3 separate regions of the Homo sapiens genome follow, and all the other regions are linked to region 1. The links are contacts of gene promoters, found by promoter capture Hi-C in blood cells and fetal thymus (Javierre and others, 2016). All regions are on one chromosome and are shown on one strand. Each heading gives the region's core, a stretch centred on a gene start or on the middle of the fragment in contact. The rest is flanking DNA. Distances are from core to core; before and after follow the strand shown.

What was found. The method cuts DNA at HindIII sites, captures the fragments that hold promoters and counts their contacts. A CHiCAGO score of 5 or more calls a contact.
Region 2: a fragment that was not itself captured here is called in contact with the fragment with the promoter of KCNMA1 in region 1 in 2 of 17 cell types (naive CD8 T cells and total CD8 T cells); the score reaches 5.3 in naive CD8 T cells.
Region 3: a contact is called between a fragment that was not itself captured here and the fragment with the promoter of KCNMA1 in region 1, in 1 of 17 cell types (total CD8 T cells). The highest score is 5.4, in total CD8 T cells.

Annotation. Positions count from the first base shown.
Region 1 is chr10:77,636,546-77,639,267 of GRCh38, forward strand. KCNMA1 (potassium calcium-activated channel subfamily M alpha 1) reads right to left here and starts at 1,263. Exons shown (of 28, transcript NM_001161352.2): 1 at 720-1,263. The coding sequence starts at 1,097. The HindIII fragment of the contact is 4,792 bases long and covers 1-2,722 here.
Region 2 is chr10:77,115,845-77,118,544 of GRCh38, forward strand. The region is part of intron 6 of KCNMA1 (potassium calcium-activated channel subfamily M alpha 1); the gene reads right to left. Among named protein-coding and RNA genes, the nearest start is that of KCNMA1-AS2, 24 kb to the right of the region's middle. The HindIII fragment of the contact is 2,262 bases long and covers 302-2,563 here.
Region 3 is chr10:77,036,846-77,039,820 of GRCh38, forward strand. KCNMA1 (potassium calcium-activated channel subfamily M alpha 1) reads right to left here. Exons shown (of 28, transcript NM_001161352.2): 15 at 2,683-2,792. Among named protein-coding and RNA genes, the nearest start is that of KCNMA1-AS2, 100 kb to the right of the region's middle. The HindIII fragment of the contact is 4,998 bases long and covers 1-2,975 here.

The DNA of each region.
Region 1 (2,722 bases), core at 13-2,512:
TTGGGGTATGTTCCACTAGAGCACCTAAGGGACGGAGTGGGAGGTTACATCAGATATGCGACCTCGACACATTCCAAAAGTGGCAGCCCCGTGGGCTACCCCCAATAGTGGGATGGATCTCCCCAACTTCTCTCGCCCCTCGAAGTCCCCCTGTTATCTCGGGCCATGCTCCTCCCCCGGGATTCCCTTGTGCAAAATTATTCTCTCCCTTGCCCAAAGGATTTTTCCCTTCTTTCTGACCCCACGAACTCATCTCCCCAACAGGTTCCTAAAGTATGGGCGGATGTGCTCCCTCTCGCCCACCGCCAGGAGCCGAGCCCCGGCAGGTGAGCGGTGCAAAACACGCACCCAGCTGCCCCCAGCTTCCTCCGTCCCCGCTGAGTTGGCTGTCCCCACCCCGCACCACGGCACCCGAGCCTGTGAGTCCCCGACCCCGGCCCCAGCCGCAGCCGCCAACAACCCTACAATAAACAAGAGGACAGGATTGAGCGTCCGCGTCCCGGAGCGCACTGGCTGGGGGCAACTCCTCACCCCCGGCGCGCCGCCCGCTGCCCCGATCCGAGAGCACCGGGAGAGCCGAGGGAAGGGAAGGCGGCGAGGGGAAGGCAGGCGGGGATGGAGGGAGGCACGGCGCGGCGCGGAGCGAGGAGGTGGGCTGCAGGGGACGCCGAGAAGCGGTGGGGCTGGCGCAGAGGGCGGGCGCCCGGGGCGCGCGTTACCTTCGTCTTGCCCCCGCAGTGGCAGCACACGGTCCACAGGTACTTGAGCGTCCGCCAGAGCAAGATGATGAAGAGGCCCCCGAAGAAAGTCACCATGGAGGAGGCCAGGAAAGCCCACCACATGCGTTGGCCCCGGCTGTCGCACGGCACCTCCATGGTCACCGGGATGATGAGCGCATCCATCTTGGGCTCGTGGACCGAGGACGAGGAGGAAGAGGAGGAGGAAGAAGAAGAAGAGGAAGAGGAGGAGGAGGAGGAGGAGGACGCGTCTAGGCTGAGATGGTTCGCGTGGATATTGCTACTCATTCTAAGACTGCTGCCTCCGCCGCCGCCGCCGCCGCCGCTGCTGCCGCCGCCGCCGCCGCCACCATTTGCCATAGCTAGCAACGGGCAGCCGGCGCAGGGGCTCGGGGGAGCTCCTCCCGCCGCCAGCGCCACCCCAAACACCCATCAACAGCCATATTGCTGCTACTGCTGCCGCCGCCGCCGCCGCCGCGGAGCGCGGGAGGGGGGCGGGGAGGCGCCTGGGCTCGGGGCGCTGTGCGCGACCTGGCGGGGTGCGCCGAGATATATACAGCGAGCCGCCGCCGCCCGCCCGGGGGGGAGGGGGATGGAGTGCGCGGGCAGCTCCCCCTCCCCGGCCCGCGCCCCGCTCGCCCCGGGCTGCGCTGGCCCCGAGCGCCGAGAGCCAGGGGGCGCCGCGGGCCGCCCGCGCCCGGGGTCTGCGCCGCCCCCGGGCCCGCCCCGGCTCCGCGCGCGGTCCCGGGTGTCCTCGGCGCCGCGCCGCCCGCCGTGCGCCACGGGTGTGCGCTGCGCTCGGCCGGTGACCCCCTTCCCCGAGCGCCTCCCGCGCGGCTAACGAGCCGCTCTCCGCTTATTAGGTGGTAACTCGTTAATAATGGATAATCGGCCCCCTCCGCCCGGGCGCCCCTGCGCCAGCCCTCCTCCCCCGGCTGCGCTCGGCTCCGGCTCGCCGCGCCAGTGCGCGCCCGGCCGCGGCAGGTTCACCGCGTCCGGCCGCCGGCCCGTGGCCGCCTGCTAGCCCATGTTCTCGGGACCCCCTAGTCCTGTCGCCACGCCGCTGAGCCCCTCGGCCTCCGCTCGCTCTTCCTCCTTGCCGCCTCCGACTCCTCCTCGTCCCCGTCCTCGCCGCCCAAGCCTCTTCGGCGCGCGCCCCGCGCTCCCCGCAGCCGCCAGCAGCAGCAGCTGCAGCAACTGGAGCGGGCGCGGACTCAGGACGACCCAGGCGGGAGGGGAGGAGGCTCGCCGCGCTGGCTCGCCTGGGCTCCGGGCTGGGCAGGGGTGGGCAGGGCCCCTCGGCAGCGGCCCGGCAAGCGCCCCTGACCCCCAGGGCGCAAGGTAGAGCGCCCCCAGCCCAGGCGCGGGGCCAGGCGCCTCTCTCCAAGGTGCTGCGCCCCCAGCCGAGAGCGGTGGGGTACACTGGGAGGACGGCGGGGCGCCCCGGTCAGGCCGTTTTTTTCCCCAAAGAGCCCCCAGTGGGGAGGGGAGGAGTGGCCAGCTGTCAACTGGATTCCACAGGCTGAGCTCCCCAGGACCCTCGGGCTTCGGGAGTGAGGAGGACCCCACGCCAGGATACACACAGCTACCCACCCCTACTTCGCTCTTCCTGCTACCTATGTGCCCAGGGTCCCGCGTGTGGCTGGAGGGTAGAGTCAGGAAGGCCAGCGGGTGGTCTGTGGCCTCTGACAGCAGCAGGTGGTTTCTCTCCTTTTTCCTTATTAGCAACAGAGGCTGCCCAACAAAGAGTAGGCAGAAATGATCAAGGACGACCTGGCCTGGGGATAGTGCAGGCCCCGATAGACAATAGAGTTCCCTGAAGGGTTGCTTTCCTCTCATATAGTCTCAGACTCCATCCATCCCGTGAGGAGGGCAGATGGGGGAAGAGGGACTCCAGACTTCATTCTGGCTCACCGTTCCCCATTTAGGGTCTTCCCTTCTCCCCACTTAAGATGAAGAAGGAGTCCGTGTTTGTTCCGTAGCGT
Region 2 (2,700 bases), core at 183-2,682, 520 kb before region 1:
CTTTCTAAATGAAACTGTATGACCACACATCTGAAAGCTACAAGCAAAAGATGCAAGGTTAACCCCTGGTGGGCATTCTCCACAGTCTGAAATGTGAACCTTGCCAGGTTAAGTAGGGCTCCTTGGGAAGAAAGAGTGAGGCACGCCAGGAGCAGGGCTGTGTGCTCTGCATAGCAAAGGTTATATATCTCTGTGTGGAGATAGTCATAGCCTTCCTGGTCAAGCCCAGGGATCTGGGCCAAACACGAAGCTACCAGCGGTTAGAATGATTTGAACCATTCAGATTCTAGCCTGCTTCCTAAGCTTTGAGGGAGATTATGATCTTATCATCAACACCTGATCCAACTAAAGTCAATCATTCTCATGTTGCCTATACAATTCCTGAGTCTCCATCCCATGAGTTCTAATTCACATCGATGGACACAGTGAATCATGATAGGTCAGGCACAGGATTCTTGTAGATTAGAGACCTCTTCCAAGAAACTGTGGATGCTGCAAGAGAAGGTCTGGCTCCAGAGATTACAGCTGTAAACCCAGAGCTTCTGGGGCCTCCTTTGTCCTCTATATGTTTAACAAGACATGTTTCAGTTAACACAGAAAATGCCATGCACTTTGTACAAAGAAGTGTACGTTTGTCCCTGTTCTGCTTGTCTCTAATTTTTCTCTTTGTTTCTGGTACTGCCAGGTGCTGCTGGCCTTGTTTGTTTTACTGCTCTCTTTGCTGGACAGATGTAAAATACCCACCCCCTAAAAAGTTAACTGGACTGCACCACACTAACATAAATGGTCTGAATGACAACATGAGTGGAACAAAGTGAAATTCTGCCAATTCAATCCCTTAATTATCTCTAGATCCCTTCTTCTTTCTCTGCCCCAATTTGCACTGCCTAAGGCCATGCCCTAATACCTCTTCCCTGGACTACTGCCTCCTAATTGGTCTTATGGTCTATGAGGTCTTTGATGCTTCAACCCCATTCTCTATACAACTGTTGGAATAGTGGATCTTTCTAAAATGTCAGTCTAACCACATTTCCTCTCCTGATTAAAATCCTTCAACAGCTCTCATTTGTTCTCAGTAAAGTCCATGAATCTAAGAACCTGCATGATTTGGCCTCTCCCTGCACATCTCTTGCAGTCTCCATATAGAATACTCTTCTTTACAAACTTTATCTTGGAGCCATTTCTAAGTTCATGTCAGTAGTAATGTTTTAGTTTCAAAAACGCCTCCCAAAACCATATTGGTTAGGTACACGATGACTCATGCATATCATGGAATGCTATGTGAGAAACAAAAGGTGACATAGTAGATGTAATCATTATCTCAAAGTAGTGTGATGTGGAGGCAATTTTACTTTATCCTATGTGATTTTGTGTGTTGTTGCAATGTTTACCATGAACATATTTTCAAAATTAGAGGAAACAGGCTGGGCACAGTGGCTCACACCTGTAATCCCAGCACTTTGGGAGGCCAAAGTGGGCAGATCACCTGAGGTCAAAAGTTCGAGACCAGCGTGGCCAACACGGTGAAACCCTGTCTCTACTAAAAATACAAAAAGTAGCCAGGTGTGGTGGCAGGCACCTGTAATCCCAGCTACTCGGGAGGCTGAGGCAGGAGAATGGCTTGAACCCTGGAGACGGAGGTTGCAGTGAGCTGAGATCACGCCCAGCCTGGACAACAGAGCAAGAGTCTATCTCAAAAAAAAAAAAAAAAAAAAAAAAAAGAAAAGAAAAGAAAAGAAAAATTAGAGGAAACAATAAGGAAATTCCCATTTTGGAAAAAATTGCTGAGTGATCCATGTTTTAGTCATCAATATTTACCACAGTCAATGAGATGTGGAATTACAGCCTTTAAACACAGCTGCTGACTTTCCTCTGACAGTAGAATAAGTGTTCTAGCACCTGTGTGTTAGATCTCCAGTTTGCAGGGCAACTGAGAAACTGCCAAAACCTCAGATAGTGAGAGGGAGTCTCCTTGTCTCCCCTTTAATTGGCCGTTTCAGGCTATGGAGTATTCTAGGCCCCCTATGGGCTTGCAGTTTGGGAAAGGGCCCTGATGCTGGTCACATAATTGTGATTTGCCCATTTCATCCCATGCACTTTAATTTTCCTTCTGCTGCATTCTTAATTCTTTATCAATCTTTCTGCCCACCTTATGCTTCTCTGCCTTATTTCTTTCAGCTCTTGGCCCAGTGAGGCAGCCAAAGTACTGGAAATGAAACAGCAACTCCAAATCATTATTTCAAATTGCATTGCAAAGCCTCCATCCCTGCCTAATGCCACAGATTGGCAGGAATTCACCGCCAAAGAGAGCCAGACAAAATCTCCCTAAAGACGATTACATGGGTCCCCCAACCCACCCTTCTGGAAGGACCGCTATGAAAGCAGCAGAGTATGGAAGAGTCACAGGAGAATCGCTCAAAAGTCCAAAACCCTACAAAAGCCAAGGCTGCACTTTCTCTGGGACAGAACTTTGGGATCCACACTTGGGGATGCCCAAAAGGAAGGAGCCAAGATTAGCCAGGCTGGCACCTGGAGAGAGAATGGCCTCAGAGAGTTGTCCTAAAGCTTCTAGATTTCTTACAATTACATGACGTTTGCTTCTGTGCCTGGTGACCTGGCCTTTCCTACCCTCTTAACCTCATCCTCCTCTTTCCATCACAGAACGCTTAATGTCCAGGAGTGCAGAATTACCCAAAGTTT
Region 3 (2,975 bases), core at 8-2,507, 600 kb before region 1:
AGATAATTAAGCCTCCAGATAATCAAATGCTTGAGGAGAGCTTCAATGTTTTGGGATGTTCCTAAATCTCATTAAATGTCCTTCTTTTATTGATCATTTCTACCTCTGCTGTATCATTGTATTAAACGAATAATAGCACTAAGTTGTACACATTCTCACTCACATCAGAAGTGGAATATATATATATTCCAGAAACTTTACTGAGCAAATACTAAATTATCTGACAACAATTTGTCTCCTTCTTGGGACATGTTCTAAATACAAAAATCAATCAAAGGGAATATTCACAGAGCCACTAGTGCCAGCTCTTGAGCTGGCTGAAGGCCAGTGAAGTTCCACACCACCCAGTGGGTCAGGGTTGGCAAACTCACACAACCACAGGGCCAGGCCTGGGATTTATGTGCAAATCTGGCCTGGTTTAAGATATCAGGGAGGAGTAACTACATGACTATACTAACCCCTTTGCTACATCAAACTGGAGCCAGTTAGCATTCTGAGGAAATGCAGGTCTTGCATTGTCACATTAGATTTTCTAAAGAATCCAGAAATCTAGTTTTTACGTGACATACTACTATTTGGAAATATCAGCAACTAGTTGATATCTACGTGAGTCAAACATACCTAGTGACTATCCCAGTTAGAGCCTGTAGGGGGAGCAGTCCTGACCCTTCAAGTTACCCATAAGAGGAACGGACTCAGTTCCCAAGAGCAGAGTAAGAGAAGGGTGGAAAAGCAAGAAGGGCCTGGGGGTTGGGGAGGGAGCACTCTTGTTAGATACAAACACCAGTTAGGCCAGGGAAACCCTACAGCCAAGGAAGGGGGCTTGACGGAGCCCCTGCTGACACCCTCACCAACATAAGACTCCCGCAGGCGCTGGCAGCTCTGCTATGTGCTCAGACCACCACCACATTAGACAGCCAAGGCTTCAATTGCCTTTTTATAAAACTAGCTTCTGTTAAAAAGCCTGCTTTCCCCCGGGGCTTTGTATCCTAGGCAGACCAAGCTCCAGGGAGGGGGAGATCCCCTGGGACAGCCTCAGTGTTCCAGGACCCAATGCCTCTGAATGCTTAACTCCTCTCAGTGGCAGGAAGAGAAATAGCTCTCAAAGAAAGGCACACATGGGAGTCACAATAGGGCATCCATTTTCAGAAAATAACTCCTTCCGAATCAATTACCTATTCACTTTTCCAGTCCATTTAGCATTAAAACTTTCGCTTAGAGACAGGGTGAGAAATTTCAGTAAACAGCCAAACCATTTTGGATTGCTTAGGGTCTGGGCCCAGGGACTGACAGAGTGCACCTGCTGTGTTCAGTGACAGGAGGCTCCAGGTAAACACGAAGCCACCAAGCGCTCCGCCTCCCTCCCTCCTGCATACAGAAAGAAAACCGTGATACAGAGGAGGCCAAGGGCACCCAGGACTGTCCCCTCCTTTGTGGTAAAGCCTGATCAGTTTTGTTTCGATGTCTTCAGACCTCTCTTTTGGTTTGTATGTAGGCAGGAAGTGCAAGCAAATGGCTTTTCTTCCTCAGCCCAGTGAGCTCCCAGATACCCCTGTTTCTTCCCAGTGAGAAGAATCCTTGTCAAATCCTTTGCTAAGGTGTCAGGAGAATAGGCTTAATGTTTCACCAACCTCAGGGAGTTTGTGTTTTCAGAGGGCACAAAGACCCCGTTCATCTTAAACTCAACATCTGAGATTTTTTATTATTATTATTTTAGAGATACAATCACTGCTATCCAGGCTGGAATGCAGTTGCGTAATCAACCTCCTGGGCAGCCTCAACCTCCTGGGCTCAAGCAATCCTTCTACCCCAGCCTCTAGAGTAGCTAGGACCATACGTGTGTGCCACCACACTCGGCTAATTTTCCTTATTTTTTGTAGAGATAAAGTCTCACTGTGTTGCCCAGGCTAGTCTTGAATGCCTAGCCTCAAGTGATCCTCTCACCTCAGCTTCTAAAAGTGGTGGGATTGCAAACATGAGGATTCTAAGTGAGGAATCTGAGGCACTGTCATGCCTCACGGCAGACACCTGGAGCTCTTGAGGTCATCCCCCATAGGTGACCATCTATTCTACCTGCAGTGGCCATGGCGGGTGGCTTTGATCCATCCTGCTGAGCCAGTGGAAAGAGAAGCTAAGACTTGTTATTATTATAACATGGCAGTTGTCTATGTGGGGGCTCAAGGCCTCCTTCTGTATATTTGGTTCCACATTTCCTCAGCAAAGGGTGAAAACACTTTGAATGGCTTTATTTCAGTAGCTTCTCTGTTGTCTCTATGATCAGACTTGATGGGAAGACAGATTAAAATTCCTTTCATTGAGGGGCTGGCAAGATTTGTTTTGCCCTCTTAGAATCAGACAGGCAGGGGTTTATGCCACTCTTCATAAATGTGTCTACATCACAGAAGGCATGCAGGATAACTGTAGTTCATAAGTTAGCATAAATGATGAATTCAAGTCCAAGACTCTCAGGCCTGTCAAGAAAAGTGGGGCCAGTGGAAATTCCCCAGGCAGAGGCCATGTAATGACCCACCCTCCTATTCATCACATGGGGCCGAGCACACGGGATACCCTCGGCAATTGTCAAGTGCTCCAACTGTACCCAGCAGAGGTGGGAGGCTTCCTTGCAAGGGGCACATTCAATATCCCTGAAAGCCAAAGAGCATCCAGTTAAAGGTCACTTACTCACAAACAGTAGGGAAGGACAGACCCACGAAGGCACTGGAGAGATATTCTGTGTACATTTCATTTGAGACTCCTTCCAAGTAGTATTTCTGCCATGTGTCTTCCTCAATCTAAAGGAAAGGAACACATGCGGAGAGTTTAAAATATGACGGTGGGCTGTAAAAGGGAAACCTGAGTTACACTCTTAGGCAAACAAATGAATGCACTGGTTAGATAATGGTGACCTTTTCAGCAATCAGGAACACGGCCTCTGCACCCATATAAAGCCTTCAATAACCCTAAACTCATAAAGT